Linked DNA regions of Homo sapiens: region 2 is linked to region 1. Evidence: promoter capture Hi-C in human tissues and cell types (Jung and others, 2019). All regions are on one chromosome and are shown on one strand. Each heading gives the region's core, a stretch centred on a gene start or on the middle of the fragment in contact. The rest is flanking DNA. Distances are from core to core; before and after follow the strand shown.

Region 1 (7,226 bases), core at 1,922-4,421:
AACTTGAGAGAGATGATTTAGGGTATCTGGCAGAAGAAATTTCTAAATGGCAAAGTGTTCCAGAGGAAGCAGAGCATACAAATTTGAAAAATCTGCAGACTGACGATGCAGTAGAAAATAAAAACCCATTTTCTAGGGAGAAATTCAAGCTGGCAGCAGAAATTTGCATAGGTAATAAGAAGCTAACTATTAATCACCAAGACAATGGGGAAAATGTCTCCAGGGCATGTCAGAGACCTTCACAACAGGCCCTCCCATCACAGGCCCAGAAACCTAGGAGGAAAAATGGTTTCATGGGTCAGGTCCAGGGTCCCCCTGCTGTTTGCAGCCTAGGGACTTGGTGTCCTGCATCCCAGCCATGCCAGCCATGGCTAAAAAGGGCCAATGTACAGCTCAGGCCTGGCTTCAGACAGTGCAAGCCTGAAGCCTTGGCAGCTTCCACATGGTGTTGAGCCTGCAGGTGCACAGAAGTCAAAAATTGAGGTTTGGGAACCTCTGCCTAGATTTCAGAGGATGTATGGAAATGCCTGGATGTCCAGGCAGAAGCTTGTTGCAGGGGTAGAGCCCTCATAGAGAACCTCTGCTAGGGCAGTGTGGAAGGGAAATGTGGGGTGGGAGCCCCCATACAGAGTCCCTCCTGGGGCACTGCTGGTGGAACTGTGAGAAGAGGGCCACCGTCCTCCAGACCCCAGAATGGTAGATCTACTGACCACTTGCACCATGTGCCTAGAAAAGCTGCACACACTCAATATTAGCCTGTGAAAGCAGCTGGGAGAGGGGGTTGTAGCCTGTAAAACCACAAGGGCAGAGCTGCCCAAGGCTGTGGGAGCCCACCTCTTGCATCAGCATGATCTGGCTGTGAGATACGAAGTCAAAATGATCCAAAGATCATTTTGGAGCTTTAATATTTGACTGCCCTGCCAGATTTTGAACTTGCATGGGGGCTTTAGCCCCTTTGTCTTGACCAATTTCTCCCATTTGGAACGGGTATATTTACCTCACTCCCGTGCACCCATTGTATCTAGGAAGTAACTATCTTGCTTTTATTTATTTATTTTTAAATTTAATTTTATTATTTTTTTTGAGACGGAGTCTCGATCTGTCCCCCAGGCTGGAGTGCAGTGGCCCAATCTCAGCTCACTGCAAGCTCTGCCTCCCGGGTTCACACCATTCTCCTGCCTCAGCCTCCTGAGTAGCTGGGATTACAGGCGCCTGCCACCATGCCCGCCTAATTTTTTGTATTTTTAGTAGAGATAGGGTTTCACCGTGTTGACCAGGATGGTCTCCATCTCTTGACCTCATGATCCGCCCGCCTCGGCCTCCCAAAGTGCTGGGATTACAGGTGTGAGCCACTGCGCCCAGCCACTAGCTTGCTTTTGATTTTACAGGCTCATAGGCGGAAGGGACTTGCCTTGTCTCAGATGAAACTCTGGACTGTGGACTTTCGAGTTAATGCTGAAATGAGTTAAGACTTTGGGGGACTGTTGGGAAGGCATGATTGGTTTTGAAATGTGAGGATATGATATTTGGGAGGGGCCAGGGGCAGAACAGTTTGGCTGTGTCCTCATCCAAATCTCATCTTGAATTATAGCTCCCATAATCCCCACATGTGGTGAGAGGGACCCAGTGGGAAGTAACTGAATCATGGGGAGGGGATTTTTCCCATGCTGTTCTAATGATAGTAAGTCTCATGAGATCTGATGGTTTTATAAAGGGCAGTTCCCCTGCACACGCTCTCTTGCCTGCCACCATGTAAGACATGCCTTTGCTCCTCCTTCACCTTCTGCCATGATTGTGAGGCCTCCGTAGCCATTTGGAACTGTGAGACCATTAAACCTCTTTTTCTTTATAAATTACCCAGTTTTGGGTATTTCTTTATAGCAGTATGAAAATGGACTAACACCGTCCACATATGCAGGGAGGCAACCACTTCACTCTCCTCTGCTTGGGGTGGGGTTGAGGGGTTGAGAAAAAGAGGGGAAGACCTTTTGAAAAGACCCAGGACTACAGTTTGAAAATGTCTGGGTTTAGAAATCGTTTCACTTCCAGTGCTTCTCACTCATTTCACTACCCATGACCCACTCCCCTCTCATCTCTTTACTGTCCACTTATCACTGTTCTTTTTGCTTAAAATGACTCCAAATCCTCAAAAAATTAAAAGTTCCACTGTTTATTACAATTGGAAATTTTATGTTTATTGTCACTGAGCAGAGGGTCTAATGACTCCAAGGCAGTAGTTTCAGATATTGCACATTGCAAACGATTTTCACACAAAAATGTTTTAAAAGGCTATCGGGTGCAGGGCTGGTTGTAGGTAGGGACCCAACCTAAGAATTATGAAACGCCATAGTTCCTAATTTTGGAAAGATATTAGCGGAGAGTAATATGGATTAGTAGCAAGGGCTGGAGAAAACAGTGCTCTATACTACCTTCAAGGTGCTCTTTTCATCGCTTGTGACCCAATGGCTGAATAGTGGGTAGGAAACAGGATTCAGGATCTCAGGCACGGTCTGGATCTACTGACTCTGAGCGTCATTTTATCTCTTGCTGGGGTACACATCTGCTTCTGGATTTAAGTAACGTGCGCTACAATAATTTAAGGACTATAAAACCACAAGGTTATGAGAGCGTAAACCACAAAGCGTGTAAGTAAATGCCTAGAAAACGCAACGCGGTAGCACAGCAGCAACGCACAAACAGCCCCAGCAAACGACGCGCGCCGGGCTTCCCAGCTCCCGGCAGCCTTTGCGCAGCCCTCCCCAAGTCCAACTGGGCGCCCGGGGCGGGGTCTGGACCGCACGCCCTTACCACACCCCCTCCGCGCCGCACCACGCCCCCTCCGTACCTGCTCTTAGCGCGCCTTCCGCCCTGAATATGCGCATGCGCCATTCTCCCTTTACAGCCCCGAAAACGCTCCAGCTGGCCGACTCGGAGACAATGGCGAGAGGCCTCAGAGTTCGGCTTCTTACCTGCTTTGCATAGGCAGCAATCTCCTGCTAGTCCCGCCTCCCTCTGGCATTCTGGCGCGCGAATGGAGGAGCCGAGAAGAGAGCGCAGTTCTGATTGGAGAACGCGCGTGTTTACATTCTCACCTCTCCCGGGAAGTGGACGAATTTAGACCGCCTCTTCCTTCCCGTTGTTTAAGGCAGTTGGTTGCCCTCCTGTCCGTCAGAGGTGCAGTACCAGAGGTGGCGTGCTGCCGATTTCGCGTTTGCCTTGCTGGATGATTCCGCTTGTTTGCCGGCTGCGTGAGTGCTTAGAGCTTTTCGGTGGAAGATGCCGGACAGTAACTTCGCAGAGCGCAGCGAGGAGCAGGTGTCTGGTGCTAAAGTCATCGCTCAGGCCCTGAAAACGCAAGTACGATGGACCTTCCTGGAATGAAAGGCTCCTACGGAAGCTGGCGGGGACCGCGATGTTGTCTTGGAGACGAGTAGAAATGGGCGATGGGGGTCGGGGGGTTTTCCTTTTAGCGCCCGGGAGGGAGGGAAGGATGTGGCGATATGGTGGGGCCTTGGGAGTTTACTCCCCTGTTCTTCGTTCCTCAGGATGTGGAGTACATATTTGGCATCGTAGGCATCCCAGTGACCGAAATCGCCATTGCTGCCCAGCAGCTAGGCATCAAGTACATCGGGATGAGGAATGAGCAAGCGGTGAGTATGGACTCAGGTGGCTGAATGCGTTACTGGGAATGATCAGTAATAGCGGTAGGTATGCATTGCAAACACCCAGATAGCGCTTACCACTCTTCTGCTACTTTACATATATCATATCAATCACTGTTGAATATTAACTGTTGTTACACCAAGTTGACAGATGAGAAAAGACACAGGTTAAGTAAAACTTGCCTTTGGTGACACAGCTGGTAGTAGCAGAGCCAGGGTTTGAACCCACGTATTCTGGGTCTGAGTCCATTCTCTTACTACTATACTGTATGTCATGATTGGAATGGACAGTTTATGAGTAAAGTCTGACTTCCCTATTAGGCTACAAGCTCCATTAGAGCAGGGATATTATTTCTTCACGACACATCTGTACCCCCAGTGCTTAGTGTGGTGCCTGCATAAGAAAGGTGTTCAGAGATTACCTGTGGGATAAATGAGTGAAGGCCAAGGCTTTGTTGTATGATTGGTTCGGGGCAGGGTGGAGGATATCACAAATGGTAGTGCCTTGATGGAAACTCAGATGGCTCAGATCCTAGCCTGATGCTTTTTCCACCACATCATGCTGCCACCTTTCTTAGAGGCTTATTTGGAAGCAGGATAAGGAAGATACGACGTTTTGTCAATCCACTTTAAGTGCATCCTCTGCCAATCCACCTTGCTCTTCTCTCAGTAGTGCGGGCTTGAAAGGTCAAGAATCCACTTCTGTGATATCACATACTCTCAGTCCAGCTGAGGCTAAATATTCCTGCTTTACACTCCCACCGTTGCCTTCTAATTTAAATTCTTGCCTCCTCTTGCCCAAACAACTGCCTGGCCACCCTAAGTGGTGCCTTTTGCCATCATACATGAGTGCCTGGAGGGCAGAAGTTGTGATTCATTTGTTATATCACCACAGTGCCTGGCTTGGTTTGTGCTTTCACGTGGTGTAGATGCTTAATATTATACATTATTTATTAATTGAATGACATTCTTTATTGAATGACATTCTTTATTGAATGACATTCTTTATCTACAAGGTTTGAGATTTGTATTTTTTAATCTTAAAACTAGGAGGTTTTGAGTTTCTGTTGCTTCTACATTTTACTTGTCTTTGTTAGAACAACATTCTGTTCTTTCATCTGTGTGAAAAAATGAAGCTATTGACCTATGAATGGAACCTATACTTAACTGTTTTTGTAGAGATGACATATCTGCCACTGATTTCTTCATACAGCAAACATTTATTGACTAAGTACTGTATACTAAGGATTGTGCTACATAACCTGTAGGAGAGAGGGATGTAAAGAAGGAGTGAGGTTTAGTCTTGATCTTCACGTTGATCAGTCCTGGAAGGTGAGGGTAAGACTTACAGAAAAAGACTCATCTATTATAACTCTCACAATAGATGTAGTAGCACAGAAGGGGTGACTGGTTCTCTTTGAGGACAGAGAAGATTGCCTGTAGAGGTAATGTTAGTTCATGTGGTTCCCTCAAGGTAGGTAAAGGCATGGTGAGCTGTGAGACTGGTAGGTAGGTTGAGGGGAGGTTGTGGGAAATCTAAAAAGAGTTTGAATTTTTTTTTTTTTTTAACAGTAGGCAATGGGGGAGACTAAAGGTTTTTCTAAACAGGTGGGCGATGTAATTAGATTTGTACTTCAGAAAGATGATGCGAGGCATGGTTGTACATGCCAGTAATCCCAGCTACGAAGGGGGCTGAGGCAGGAGGATTACTCAAGTCCAGGAATTAGAGGCTGCCTGGGCAACATAGCACGACCTCTGTCTCTAAGTTTTATTTCAGCCCCTATAAGCTTAGTTGAGGGTTCTTTAGGTCCCATGTGCTGTGTTGGGTGCTGGATACAGAGATGAATGATAGTTCCTGGCTTTAAGGGGCTTACAGCCAAGCTGTGGAGACAGACACAGACAATTGTATTATAAGGTGGTAAGTGCTGTGATAGAGAGATATCCAGGGTGCTATAAAGCCCAGAGAAGGAGTACCCAGGCTCAGCTTCCCACAGGAGATGATGTCTGAGCTGTCCTGAAGGATAAGCAGGCATTAACCAGTTAGGAAAGAGGAGGCAGGCTCCTCTGGAGATGATTCCTAGATTTTGGGCTTACTTGATTGATTGTGTAGATCATATTGTCTGTGACTGAGACTGGGAATATAGAGGGAAGAGCCAGCTTGGAGGAGAAAGGTGATGTTCAATTTTGAACACATGCATTTGAGATGTTGGTGGAACATCCCAGTGCATATGTCCCTCAAGCATCCTGACTCTATGGTAGTCAAAGGAAGACTTAAATGGTACCTGAACTAAGGGTAGTGACAGAATGATTCAGAGGGAACATGAAAACAGGCTAAGGCATTCAGGACATGTTTGTGATAAAGAGAAAGATGTAGTTGGGTGTGACTTCATTGTCTTTGATTAGATCCATAGAGTAATCAAGACATACTGACCAATTGGCCAGCAAGTAGGCAGATTGTCAGCAAGTTCATTGTTCTTGAGAGCTTACTGTGTGTGGGCACTATTTTGAGTGTTTTACACATACGAACTGATTTCATCCTCACAGCAGTGCTTTGAATTATTTTCATTTTATAGATGAAGAAACAGAGATTTAGAGCAACTTGCCAAAATTACACAGTAGAAAGTGGGGAAGCTGGGATTTAAATCAAAACAGATTGGCTCGAGAGTCCACTCTCTAAGTACCATGTACACTGTTCTGCCTGTGAATGGAGGTAGTTTAGTAGAGGAACAGATCTTTTATGGTCATAAAACCAGTTATGGCCAGGCGCGGTGGCTCACGCCTGTAATCCCAGCACTTTGGGAGGCTGAGGCAGGCAGATCACCTGAGGTCAGGAGTTTGAGACCAGCCTGACCAACATGGAGAAACCCCGTTTCTAAAAATATAAAATTAGCCAGGCGTGGTGGTGCATGTTTGTAATGCCAGCTGCTCGGGAAGCTGAGGCAGGAGAATTGCTTGAACCTGGGAGGTGGAGGTTGCCGTGAGCCAATATTGCATCATTGCACTCCAGCCTGGGCAACAAGAGCGAAACTCCGAAACTCTGTCTCAAAAAAAAAAAACAAAACAAAACAAAATAAAACAAAACAAAACAGTTACCTCTCAACTTTTGACATTTCCTACCAGAGGAATATACTTTTTGTTACGTGTTGTTGTATATTTTGCATTGCCTAGCAACATTTCTTACCTAGCTATCATAAGTGGGCAATTCTTTTGGGTGTCTAAATAAAGTGTTCTTATTGCAGCAGGTATTTACATGCCTGCATTTCTTAGGAGTTGTCTTATTCTCCTAATGTGAATTTGGCCTTATGTGCAAAAGGAAAGAGAGATGGGGCCAGTAGAGAATAGCGACACAGGAAAAGAGCAGAGTCTTTGTGCAGGTTCTCAGTGGGTGTATGATAGTAGAGCCAGTTAAGATTATGATCCATAAACATTTCCTTTTTTTTTTTTTCCACATTTATGTCGTTAATGTGGAGTTCTTTAAGACAGTATACTACTTCATTTAAAGCTGAATGAAGGCTAGGAAATACGCAATTCATTATTATTTCTAAAGAAATGAGAAGAAATAAT
Region 2 (7,226 bases), core at 1,395-3,894, 450 kb before region 1:
GGACATACCATAAATGCATGTGGGAATGAAAGATATAATTGGCAGAAAGAAAAAGCCAATAGGAAGAGGTTACATTGAACAGCTAACCTCTAAGTGTTTAGATCTGGATGGTACAGGATCAGACTCAGTTGTCCCTGGGGAATGTTCAGTGAGTAGCTAAGAACTAAGCCCTTTGTAAAAAGCCTCATTAGGTTCATAGCCTGTGAGATGATCATATATATCCTTTCTCTAAGAATTCTGTCAGTCTCTTTAATTTTGGCACAGTACACAATACACAACTTGATCCTGATGAAAGTAGTTATTACAGTTTCCTTCAAAATAAGTTGCCAAGCTCTAGGTCATAAGACCCTGGCCACAACTGATTGAACCAGGAGTCCAGGCCAAGGAAGCTGGACCTAAGGGAGACCAGCAGCCAATAACAAAGCCTAGTGTGAGACTCTGACCAATAGGACCACTTCTTATTAGATAGTATTAATCAACATACCCAGATCCTCACCCTTGGGAATTTTTAATGCAAAATGAATTAAGAGAGGGATAGAAAAGCAGAAAGATGTTCATGATGAGGCACTGAGAGAGAGAAGCCCATTCAAAAAGCTACTGAGTCATGAGGGTGACAGAATTAATGGAGTAGAAAAAAATTGATTTCAATTCTGTGGGGACAAGATATTTGGGGCACCAGTGCAACCACTGGGACTAGTGTTGAACACATTGTGGTTTTCTCTGGGCCTGACCTCATCTCCCAGCACTCACCCTTACTCCCTATGCTTCTGCCCCACTGGCTTTCTTTGTGTTCCTAAAACTTGCCAAAGTTTTAGGGGCATTGCAACAGTACCTTCCTATGCCTGGAAAATTCTGCTCCCAGACCTACTCCCAGCTGGCTCCTTCAGAACTCTCAAGGCTTGGTTACAATTCTACTTCCTAAGAAATCTTTCAGACCATGCAATCTAAAGTAGCCTCACACCCTTCTCCCTATCCCTCTTTACCATGTTACCAGATTCTTTCCTTCATAGCACTTACCACCATCTGAAGTCACCTCATTCATTTATGCCCTTTGTTTCTTATCCATCAAACATACAAGCTCCGTGCAAGTAGGAACCTTATCTGTCTTGTTCACTGCTAGAGTCCTTACAGCCTAGAACACAGTCATCACACAGTCGGTGCTCAACAAATATTTGTCGTGTGGATAACAGTGCACTTGCTGAGACAAAACAGCACTCCTCACTTTCCTTGTGTATCCTTAAAATGAATGTGAATACCCATCGTCAAATTTTCAACTGAGTATTCCCCTCCATTCCTTACAAATGGAAAGAGTCTCATACCTATGGTGGGGGTCCTAGAGACCTTCATGGTGGAAGACTTTGTGATGAGGGAACTATAGTGCCAAAGTCATGGGCCCCATCATTGGGAAGCAGCCTGAAGGTTCCCTAAAAATAAAACAAAAACTATTCCCCCAAATAAAGGCAAACCTAAGGACATTTGCTCCCCTTTAATTAACATTATTACTTTCCATTCACTCCCAAGGAAGACAGTCAGAATGAGAAGACAGTCAGGATGAGAAGACAGTCAGGATGAGTCAAGTAATTTCTGCTCACTGGAAATTTTGAGACTCTTCCTTCTCTCAACAGCACCACTGCCCTCTCCTCACCATAAACATACATTTTAAGGTCATGCTTATGTTTGCATTTGCAGGGTATTGCTAAAGGGGTATGCATACTTTATTTTTCATGTCTAGTCCTCTAGGCCAGTGTTCCATGCCTAGGACATTTTATCCACTGGCTCTACAGGCACAGTAATTTTGAATGCCCTAAGAAATATTTGAGACCTAAAAAAAATGATATTGTCTCTCAAATAGAATAAATATAATTCAATAAATGTTTAAGTGCACGTTGAACATTATATGATGTCAACTGCCACATCCATGTACTTCCCAAGGAGGTGGAAGGACCTTTTACTGCATTTGGGATGGTGCAGACGCCACCAAAGATCGCATGCCCAGGGCTGCCCAACATCCTAAAATGGCTCTCACACTAAGTCATGACTGACATGGCCTCATCTATGCATGAATTCTTTTGTATGTGACATTCTTGCCACACAAACAAGGTCTAAAGAAGTGAACTGGCATGTACCTGATTTTTTAGTTAGGGGATTCGTATGTGACCCATCACTAGGATTCCCAATTCCCTGGGACAGAACCAGTCTCAAGTACACCACATCCTGCTTTGCCCATAAGTACACTTGCCCTTGTCAGATCCCATGTCATTGCTTGGGTTCAGAAACCATAGCCAAGTATAGAGGACCAAGGTCCGAGGGTATGGCTGGAGAAGGCAAAGGGAGTGAAAGAGGGTCTCGGTTCAGTGTTCCCTTAACTGCCTCTCAGCTGCCTCCCTCGTCCCAGTCTCCTGCCTCCACATGTCTCTGTTAAAGCAGCGATTGGGGAATAAAGACCCATCGAGAGAGTCTTCTAGAAGTCTTGGGACCTAGATTACAAAAGAGGTGAGGAAATGAGGACAGAGCCTGGCGAGAGTATGCAGAGGTTACAAACTTCCTTACACAATTAAACAGAGGTAGGAGGTTACTTAATGGGGAAAAATCCTATCAGTCCCTCAGAGGTGAATTTTAATTTCCATTTGTGTGGTAGACATAATTTTCCAAACAAAGTTGTGTCCCTGGGATTTTCTGCCAAATATTAATTTCCTTCCTCTGCGTTGGAGCTCTAGTATCTGGGCATGTTGCAAAGCGTCTTCAATATGTGTTTAATATTGTACAGGCAATCAAAGGATGTGAGGACTTGCAGCAAATCTAAAACAGCTTAAACTCAAGAGTTGTTGAAAATTAAGAGCTTTGTGGTTGTCATGTTTTCCTTTTTTTTTTTTTTTAACAGACTGTCATTCCAGACCATTACAGAGTGAAGAGAAGTTATTCTATTTTTAAGGACCGCCAAAGTAGATTCCACTGTCTTCACAACCTATTCTGGTGTCTACGAGCTCTCAGCATTGGCAAGTTTTCCTTGGGATCTAACAAAATTCTGTCCATAGAAGCTCAGGCCAGCCAGCCAGCCATGGGAGCCAGAGAAAACTTCCACCACCCCAGATAAAATCTACCTCAGATTTTCAAGATGGTCCGTAAACCTCTGGAGCCATGATAATCCTAATTTCCACAGCCTCCTTTGGCATTTGGAGAGTTTGCTGTGGAAGCTCAATGCTGAACTTCCCCTCATAGGGAGACCTCTTCACCCACCAGAGAGGAGGGAAGCCAGCACCAAACAGCGCTTCAGCCTTGCTGAGTTTAGAGGGTGAGGGGGTGAGCGAGCCATTGTCCCGGTGCCCACAGAGGCCTGCCCGCTCACACCCTGGGCCTGCCAGCTGCTGTTGCTGCCCCCACCCCTCTCAGCACCCTCCCCTCCATGTCGAGGGACTGGCCCTCCCCCGCCCCAAGAGTGCCTTCCGGCCTTCAAGGAATAGAGGCCAGAAGTATCAAGGAAACATGGCCTCACCCAAGAGGAAAAGGAAGCTCAAAAACCAGGCCAGAGGGTGAGGTGGTGCTGGGGCATAGGATGCATCTGGCCGTCACATTACTGAGGGAGGAAGGGAGAAAAGGAAACCAAGTGCTGGTGGCCTGAAGGCTGCCCAGCCTCAGCGATTTCTTCACACATGCCTCTGATTGCCCTGACCGAGGTTCAAAACCGGCTTGAAAATTGCTTCCAGCTCACATTCTGATTCCAATATAAAGGTAACACATGAAAGACAGTGGAAATGATGACCAGGCAGGACCCTGAAAAACAAACATTTGTGAGTAAAAACTGTCTGCGTGGGGATAGACTGCCTGTACTGAAAGAGTAGCCTCGGCTGTATGCACAGTTTAGGCGTTCACGGATTCCCCCAGGCCTGCGGGGAGGATGGGCTCCAGAGTGCAAGGCATGTTAACTAGCACAGCTGTGGGTAGAAAGAGCACTGATCTTAACGAGAAAGGTCTGGGTTCCACCCCAATCTCTGGGAAGGCACTGGGAGTCTGTTTTCTAGGCTAGATCAGTGTTTCCACTGATGGATTCCTATTTTGTGCCCCAAAATGTCATGTTCCCTCCACATGTGGAGTAGCATCTTCTATGGTGAGCTGGCTTCAAAAGATAAATATAAGACAAAATGATTGCTCATGTAAAAGTTTCCCTTTAAAACTTCTTAAATTACTGACAAATACAGAAATACACTCTATCATGAGAGGTTTGGGCAAGAGCTGAAACCCACTGAGGGGAAGCAGTCACATCCACCAATCTGTGCTCAGCCTGGGCATCCATCCCTTCATGGAGCCAAATCACCAACTCTATTAAAAGACTGTGGGATCCCAGCACTTTGGGAGGCCAAGGTGGGCAGACCACCTGAGGTCAGGAGTGCAAGACCAGCCTGATCAACGTGGTGAAACCCCATCTCTACTAAAAATACAAAATTAGCCAGGCGTGGTGGCACATGCCTATAGTCCCAGCTACTCGGGAGGCTGAGGCAGGAGAATCCCTTGAACCCAGGAGGCGGAGGTTACGGTGAGTCGAGATTGCACCATTGCACTCCAGCCTGGGTGACAGAGTGAGACTCTGTCTCAAAAAAAAAGATGGTGGTTTAATTTCTGTTTTGCTGTTTGTAAGAATTTCTTTTTTCTCTTTTTCTTTTCTTTTTGTTTTGCTAAACCCACAGAGTCATGTTTGCATAGGTTCAATATGCATATAATGCAACTCAATCCTAAATATATTTTTAAATATATGTTGATTTTTAAAATATATTATGGGTCCAGCTGCAGTGGCTCATGCCTACAATCCCAGCACTTTGGGAGGCCGAGGTGGGAGGATTGCTTGAGACCAGGAGCTGGAGACTGGCCTGGGCCACATAGTGAGACCCCCATCTCTACAAAAAAAATAGCTGGGCATGCTGGTGCACACCTGTAGTCCCAGCTACTCAGGAGGCTGAGGCAGGAGGATTGCTTGAGTCCAGGAGTTCAAGGCTGCAGTGTACTATGATTGTGACATTGCACTCCAGCCTGGGCTACAGAGCTAGACCCCATCTCTTAAGAAAAAATAGATTATGGTAAATGTGACTGGAAACTCATGAAAGTTTTTCTATGAATTTGTGTTTTATTCATTGTAACAACATTCATGCACATTTACAAAAGAAAGAAATGATATACATGTGTGGTGAGATACGTGAATTATCCAGGCATAGATGATGCTAGATGCAGAGGGATTAGCTGGCCTCTGGCAGTGCAGCTGAGGTGGTCAAATGGGAGCCAAATGAATAAAATGGCCTAAATAATGCACAGCTTGAAATCTTGATGCATCTGTGGTCTCAACACAAGTCCATGCTCATTTCAACTCCATGCTTATACTTGGCTTTCAGCTCACATTTCAGAAAACTAATTTTGAACAAGGGAGATTGAAATTATTTTTATTTAGCCCCTGATTTTTATTATACTTTATTTGTTACTTGTCATTTTTAGGGTGCTTGTGTGCATTATTACCTGTGGGTCACAAAACACTCCCAGGAGGTAGAAAAAATGAGTATGTCACCCATTTGTCAGATTCAGAAACTGAGTCTCCAAAATCCAAGGGTCTCATCTGAGATCAGACAAGCTAAATAATGTTAGAATTGGAACCAGAATCCAACTCTTCAGATTTAAAGTCTGCCTAGATTCAAACAATTCTTTTTGACTTAAAACTTTAAATATCACTGTGCTTACCTGGAAAGGTTTGTTTAATTTTTGTCTAAAACAGAGGAACGCTTTACATGACCATTGAACTTCCCTTCCAGCCCTAGAATAAGTATTTACATTCTCTACCCAGAGTTCTAGATGGGTGCTGTGCACTGGACCCTGTTCGTCTGCCCCCCTCTGGTGGCCATTAAACAAATAACAGATCCTAGAACAACTCCTAGGGCAATGGTTGCTTTCTCTTTCGTCAATCATTCATTCATGCAAACAGCACCTAATATGTTCCAGGCTCTGCACGAGGACATACACAAATAAACAAGATAGAGTGCTGCCCTCAAGGCTGGTAGACAAACAAGTGAATAGATTATTATAAAATAGTAGGACAAATGTCATGCAGAGTATGCAGACAATGCTGAGAGTGTACAAAGGATGCCTGGACTGGCCTTTTGGGGGAAGGGCAGATATTAAATAGTTAGGAAAGGCAGGCGGTACCCAGGCTGAGTTCTGAAGGAGAGATAGGAGTCAGGGATGGAAGGAAGCATTAGGAATTCAGGGAGCTGCCAGGATGCCAGTTCAAGATGGTGGAATTTAGAGCACAGGTTTTAAGGGGGCAGAGCAAGAAGTGGGGTCAGGGACATTGGCTGGGCCAGATTAGGAAAGGTTTTTTATGTCACAGTAGCATTTGAGCTGGTATCCACTAGCCTAGTGTCCCCAAATGTTTTTTTAATCTTGTTCCCCATCAATAAAAATATCTGCAGATGCATCCCTAATTTGTGGGTATTTATTCCTTTATATATTTTATACCCAGGCAGTATAGCATAATGGTTTATTCATGGGCTCTGGAGCTAGACTGACCAGGCCCAAATTCTTCTCTAAGAAGAACTTAGGACAATGCCTGGTACATGGTAAGTGTTACATGTTAGCTAGTATTATTGCAGAATTATCCTATTTGGTGCCATCATAAAGGTAGGGTTGGGAATTACACCATGTAGTGGCTTCACCTACTCCAAGAAAGTCTCTTTTAATATAAATATACTTCAAAATATCAAGAACTACTCTAGTCTTCAAAATCTCAACCAGAAGAACAGACCACTCTCAACCGTCTCACCTACCCACCCACCAAAGAGCAAAGTAGCTCTGTCATCTCCTGATTGTACTTATGGCAAAACTCATCCACGCAGAGGATTCCTCCATTTAACTCAAAGCAATAAGATGAGGCCTGGGGTGGGGCTTGAGAATCTGCAGTCCTAATAAACTCCCAGGGGATGCCGATGCTGCCAGCCCAAATTCCACACTTTGGAATTTTAAAAGGAAAATATAAATAATAAACTGTTTTTTAGAACATTATTTTACAATAGACACTGAGAAATTCAAGAGGGGGCCAGGGAGGGGTAAGTGTTGAAAAATATCCTACTGGGTACTATGCACTGTACCTGGGTGACAGGTTCAATTGTACTCCAAACCTCAGCATCATGCAATATAACCTTTGTAACAAACCTGCGAATGTGCCCCGTGAACCTATCATAAAAATGTTTTCA

The links. The method cuts DNA at HindIII sites, captures the fragments that hold promoters and counts their contacts. A contact is called where the count stands out against the background at its distance.
Region 2: a fragment that was not itself captured here is called in contact with the fragment with the promoter of HACL1 in region 1 in 1 of the 25 tissues and cell types used here (hippocampus).

What each region holds. Positions count from the first base shown.
Region 1 is chr3:15,597,514-15,604,739 of GRCh38, reverse strand. It overlaps HACL1 (2-hydroxyacyl-CoA lyase 1), which reads left to right and starts at 3,171. Exons shown (of 17, transcript NM_012260.4): 1 at 3,171-3,357; 2 at 3,546-3,650. The coding sequence starts at 3,277. BTD (biotinidase) reads right to left here and starts at 2,995. Exons shown (of 4, transcript NM_001370658.1): 1 at 2,846-2,995. RefSeq lists a silencer at 2,723-2,782 and an enhancer at 2,624-3,266. The HindIII fragment of the contact is 8,334 bases long and covers 1-7,226 here.
Region 2 is chr3:16,047,518-16,054,743 of GRCh38, reverse strand. No RefSeq gene overlaps it. Among named protein-coding and RNA genes, the nearest start is that of GALNT15, 120 kb to the left of the region's middle. The HindIII fragment of the contact is 6,949 bases long and covers 1-6,118 here.